Linked DNA regions of Homo sapiens: region 2 is linked to region 1. Evidence: promoter capture Hi-C in 16 types of primary human blood cells and fetal thymus (Javierre and others, 2016). All regions are on one chromosome and are shown on one strand. The core of a region is centred on a gene start or on the middle of the fragment in contact, and the rest is flanking DNA. Distances in the headings are between cores, read along the strand shown.

The links. Contacts are between HindIII fragments. The CHiCAGO score rates a contact against its expected background, and 5 or more counts as called.
Region 2: the fragment with the promoter of GUCA1C here is called in contact with the fragment with the promoter of DPPA4 in region 1 in 4 of 17 cell types (neutrophils, M2 macrophages, naive CD8 T cells and 1 more); the score reaches 8.1 in neutrophils.

Annotation. Positions count from the first base shown.
Region 1 is chr3:109,336,140-109,339,105 of GRCh38, reverse strand. It overlaps DPPA4 (developmental pluripotency associated 4), which reads left to right and starts at 1,560. Exons shown (of 7, transcript NM_018189.4): 1 at 1,560-1,642. The coding sequence starts at 1,589. RefSeq lists enhancers at 1-236, 1,455-2,062, 2,063-2,671, 2,672-2,966. The HindIII fragment of the contact is 8,399 bases long and covers 1-2,966 here.
Region 2 is chr3:108,952,350-108,955,315 of GRCh38, reverse strand. GUCA1C (guanylate cyclase activator 1C) reads left to right here and starts at 1,437. Exons shown (of 4, transcript NM_005459.4): 1 at 1,437-1,757. The coding sequence starts at 1,554. The HindIII fragment of the contact is 5,644 bases long and covers 1-2,293 here.

The DNA.
Region 1 (2,966 bases), core at 311-2,810:
AATTCTCCTGCCTCAACCTCCTTGGTAGCTGGGATTACAGGCACGCACCATGCCCGGCTAATTTTTGCATTTTTAGTAGAGAAGGGGTTCTGCCATTGTTGGCCAGGCTGGTCTCAAAACTCCTGAACTCAAGTGACCTGCCCACCTCAGCCCCCCAAAGTGCTGAGATTACAGGCGTGAGCCACCATGCCCAGCCCAGAACTCCAGTTATTCTGAATGTTACGTTCAATTACACTGACAAAAGAAAGATGATTCAGTTATACACTTTATACACAAACCTTAATTAGAAAGTCCTACTGGTGGTTACCAAAGGCTGTGGTAAAGAATTGTTAAATCAAAGCCCTAATATCTCCCAGATGACCTCAACTCACCTGGTTTCCTCTTTGCCGCCTTGGGGGTTGCCCAGTCCACAACCTGCACTTCCTTCTCTATTCCTGGGCTCCGTTTACTTACTTTTTCTGTCCGTGGATTTCTAGCCTGTGAGCAGATTACTAACACCATTTGGATAAAGACAGTCTCTTATTTATCATTTTAGGACAAGCAATGAGATGTAGGAAAAAAAAACAACAAAGTAAACCAAAGAACAAAAGAGACTTTGGACCCTGACAAGGGAGGGTTTCAGTCGCACAGCCACTGCTTCCTTCACTTCACATCTCTTGACAATCTGACAGGGAGCACTGATCTGAGGAAAGATTTTTCAAATTATTTTAAGGAGAAAAACTTGAACTTCTTTGGGAGTCAGTAGGTTAGGGGTTCACTTACTGTGCTATTGAAAAAGTTACCAATAAAAATTTATACCAACTTTAGTCATATATAAAATGGGGAACAATAATGACTGAATTTAAAACTCACAATTTGAGATATAAAAAAATACTCGGGCGGGGAGTGGTGGCTCACGCCTGTAATCCCAACACTTTGGGAGGACAAGGCTGGAGAATTACTTGAGGGCAGGAGTTCGAGACCAGCCAGGTCAAAATAGCCAGACCCCCCCACTTGCCCTCTACAAAATAAATAACAAATACTCTATAGACTTTAAAAGCTACTATTATTAGTTCGTTGGCAGATGAAAAGATGCTCGGTATTAGTACAGAGAAACCTGGAGTTTTAGTTGGTTGAGTAACTTACTTAGGAAATGGAATGTATTTGGTACGAGAAAATAGCTTTCTTCAAGCCGCCAGTCTGGTCTCTGAAGTCTACTGTTGCCACAAGTTCCATTATTAAATCCCTTCACACATCCTGCTCAAGTCTCTGGCCACTGTTTTTTTGTTTTTTGTTTTTTGTTTTTTTTCCCCGTAGAATCGTTCTGAAGGAGTGCTCAATCTCCCAATGTCTCCGGAACCATACTTTGGATAATTACATTTAAAGTGAACAGAAAAGGGCCAGGAATAGTATTAGTAATTCAACCCAGACAAAAGTCACCCCATGAATAAGAAAGAATGCAATTTTAGCATTTACAAATTGTGGGGGAGGGAACAGAAGGGGAGAAGAAAAGAAGAGGTGAGGTGGAGAGAAAAAGGGTCTTCGGGCGGCAGGAAGTGGGAGGAGACTTTGCAAATAGCAATCTTGGGGCAGGGGCCATTTTGGAAGCATGTTGCGAGGCTCCGCTTCTTCTACAAGTATGGAGAAGGCAAAAGGCAAGGAGGTCAGTACAGTTTTAGTGGATTTGTTTTCTGTCTGTCTTTGTGTTTCTGTCTTCCCTGGGCACTCCTGATTTTTCCTTTAAGGAGAAAAGAATGTGCCTTCGAATTTTCTCCTCTTGACTTTTTTTTTTTTTATTTTAAGAGTAAGGCCCAAGAATATGATTGCAGCCTGGTATATTGGAGTGAGCAGACAAGTAAGAAATGAGGTTTTCTAGGTTTAGTTGAGGAGGTTGAGTGTGTCAAAAGATGGGGAAAAAAAAAAAAGAGGCCGGGCGCGGTGGCTCACGCCTGTAATCCCAGCACTTTGGGCAGCCGAGGCGGGCGGATCACCTGAGGTCGGGAGTTCGAGACCAGCCTGACCAAAATGGAGAAACCCCGTCTCTACTAAAAGTACAAAATTAGCCAGGTGTGGTGGCGCACACCTGTAATCCCAGCTACTCGGGAGGCTGAGGCAGGAGAATCGCTTGAACCCGGGAGTCGGGGGTTGCGGTGAGCCGAGATCGCCCCATTGCACCCCCAGCTTGGGCAACCAGAGCGAAACTCCACCTCAAAAGAAAAAGTTAAAAAATTAGGTTTTCAGGTTTGTGTTTTGGAACAGGGTTTCACTTTTGTCTCCCTGGCTGGAGTGCAGTGGCACCATCACTATTCACTGTAACCGCCCAGGCTCAAACGATCCTCCCACCTCGGCTTACCAAAGTGCTACTGGGACTGCAGGCGCCCGCCGCTGCTCCCGGCCCGGGTTTTCTGTTTTGAAGAGGTGCTTAGTCCTGTCAGAAAGAACTAACTGAATATGGGGGCTAGAGGGAAATGGTAACAGGAGAAAAGGGTGTTAAAGGAAAGATTTTAGGAAGAGGTAATTGAGCTGAGTTTGGAAAAGAATGAAACCCCTTAATTTCCTTTAGACGGACACAGATCCTAAACCGAGGGTGCTGAGAATGAATTCGTCCCCTTTTCCCAGCGTCCTTAGGACCTAGGAGTAATCAGAAGCCAGACATTGGGAACAATGCAGACAGAAACTGAAGGAAGAGAGGATTTAAGACGTTGCACAGGCACTGAACGGCCATATCCGAGCGCTCTCAGGTCCTCTTGACTTGAACTGGGTCATTTTTAACTGTCTCGGTTTTAAGTCTTTTGTGAGGTCCAAAGTGAGTACTTTTTGTAAGGTTTATGCAAATATAAATTTCAAATCAAAATGTAGAACTGCTATAGAGATGTAAAAATGCCATACAAATGTTAATTTGTCCAGTAATCCACCCTGAAAGTGAAGAAAAGGATTTAGATTTAGGAGAAATTTTATTATATTAATTTTTTTTTTTTAATGAGTTT
Region 2 (2,966 bases), core at 188-2,687, 380 kb after region 1:
AGCCCTTTTATTTAACTCTAATTATGACATCGAAATGTCCCATTGAGAGTCTACATTGATATGTTTGAAACAAAATTAACCATATTCACTGTAACCACCACCACTTCTGGTCAAGGCAGTTCATTTAGGCCATGATGGCTACTTCTTAGGAATCAAGGGTTTCATAATAAACAGGTAATCAGTCAGGACTAAGGAATAGGGACAAAGACAGAGACCAGATATATGAGCTGGGCCAAAATGAAAATAAAAGAAAGAATTGAGTGAGGTTAGAAAAGAGAACTGTAGGCCAGGTGTGGTGACTTGTGCCTGTAATCCCAGCACTTTGGGAGGCTGAGGCGGATCATGAGGTCAGGAGATCGAGACCATCCTGGCTAACACGGTGAAACCCCATGTCTACTAAAAATACAAAAAATTAGCTGGGCGTGGTGGCGGGCGCCTGTAGTCCCAGCTACTCTGGAGGCTGAGGCAGGAGAATGGCGTGAACCCAGGAGGTGGAGCTTGCAGTGAGCTGAGATCATGCCACTGCACTCCAGCCTGAGGGACAGAGCGAGACTCCATCTCAAAAAAAAAAAAAAAAAAAGGAGAACTATAATTTAGGGGTAACAGAATTATATTCTACCTGGGGTTTTCTGGTTCTAAGTATGGTTGGTACCAAAATGGGTTGAGGACCACACAAAGCATTCATTTCCACTACTGGACCTTGGATACAGTTCTTAGGTCCATTGACCCTGTTCTTAAGTTCATTGGCAAATGGGGCTTGGTTAGGACAAGATTAGCCAGATTAGAAAACTGGAGTGAGATAAAGCTGGCAGGCCAGTGGCATGTGTAGATACTTGAGAGACCAGAAAAAGGTAAGAACAGAGGGTGGGGGAGAGAAAGGAAGAACACTGCCAGAAGACACAGCCCAATATGTTCCTTTATCTGACTACTACATCTGAAGTTCTTCTTACTACTATTTAATTCTCTTTACCTATTTTTCTCTCTTATACATAGACTTCTTTTTAATAATACTCAATGTATGATTTTTTCATGTAAAATGTTATCTAAATATATCTTCACAATACTCAGGTATGAAAAGGCAGAAACTTTTATTACTGTTTTACAGATGAGGAAACACGAGAATGTAAGTAATGTTTCAATATAGTTAATAAGTGGTAGAACAAAGCATAGAATCTAGGCTTCCTGATTGCAACTCAAAGTTCCTGCCATTAGACCCACTGTACCACTCAATAATGTAGGCAAAATTTATGGCTAACAATATAACAAGGATCACCCTCTCTAAAATATTGCGTGTTCCCTTCACAAAAAACTATGTCTCTGCATGACTGTAAGCATGTTAGTTACCAAGTGCCAAGTGACCTTGGTTTTAAAACTGGGCAGATAAGTTAATCTCACTGGCTTTCTATTCTTATTTAGCTTGTTGCTGTAAGAGGTTTAGAGTAGCTTTCTGAGGGCATATGTTAGCCTTCAGTTTTAGTGAGGAGTAAGGGACTAAATCCAGCAAAAACTTAAGTGAAAACAACCTGAGGAAAAGCTGTAGACTGTGAGTCAAGATGGGGAATGGCAAATCTATAGCTGGTGATCAGAAAGCAGTTCCTACACAAGAGACCCATGTGTGGTACAGAACATTTATGATGGAATATCCATCCGGCCTGCAAACACTACATGAATTTAAGACACTTTTGGGTCTGCAAGGTCTGAATCAGAAGGCCAATAAACATATTGATCAAGTTTATAATACCTTTGACACGAACAAGGTAAGATCTTTCATTTTTCATTTCATTTGAAAATGCTGTGGTTCTGCACTCTTCCCTTTTTTTTTTTTTTCCTGTAAAATAGCCTTAAGTAAAATGTGTACATCCCACTGAATGGAGAGGTCTTCAGGCAACTCACAGCTTGTAGGTAAGTGAGTCATTAAATACTTTTAGTACTGACGGCATGAAAATAATTGGGAACTAGCCTCTCCCACCCTAGGAAGTGTTCTGCATGTAGGGAGTTATTTTAAAACCAGATTAAATCTCGGCATGGAATTCTAATGCTATCATTTAAATAAATCTAATAAGTACAGATTGATTTACAAAGACTGTTTTCGAAGTATTTAATGCATTGGTGACATTTTATAGAAAAGCAAATTACAGGACTCTGCTTTTAAAAGTGTGATTGCATCTAGATTGGCAGATATAATCAATACAAATTAGCCAACATGTTGTCTGTACTCAAATCAAAAGTTAAACTGCTTCATATTACTTTTTTCCCCATAGTTTACCAATTTAGTTTGGGAAAAATGGAAGCTTAACAGTTTTAAATTCAGACAAATTTTTGTTTCTAAAGATTGTTACTCAACTTTTATCTTGAATTTACTCATTCCTGAGGAGCTGTAGTGCATTTAATTTCATTTCTTGAAAAAATACAAAGAAGAGAAAAGAATATATGGAATTGAAAAAAAAAAGAGAGACAAAAAAGCAACAACCTGAAATATCAGGCTCAGGTTCTGCCTGCTTTTACTTGTTTATTTTGGTTATTTTACTGTAGATTTGTATATTTCAAAATGTGTAGATATTGACTAGAATAAAAAGGAACAGAGAAAATGCTAATAGAAAATAATGACTTTAGAAGGCCATCCAACTGATAATAGAAGAGAAAGAAGGGGAGGTAAATTGAGTAAAATTAAAAAAAAAACTGGTTGTTTGATAGGATGTGTAGAATTTAGCAAAATACTTTAAACCAAGAAGCAGGTGACTTAAAAGGAGGTAACAGGCAGGAACTTGGGAAGATTAAACCTGTGCAAAATTAACAGCTGTTTTAATCCTTGTAGCAATGTCAGGAACAGATTTCTTTAGGACATTATGGTATGGTCTTTTGTGCTTTGTTACCAAATATGAGTTAAGCACTGCCTGTTCAGCATGACAGTGCTTTCCTCCTCATCAATTTTACTTAGTGTCAATGCAAGCAAAAGGCGATCTTCA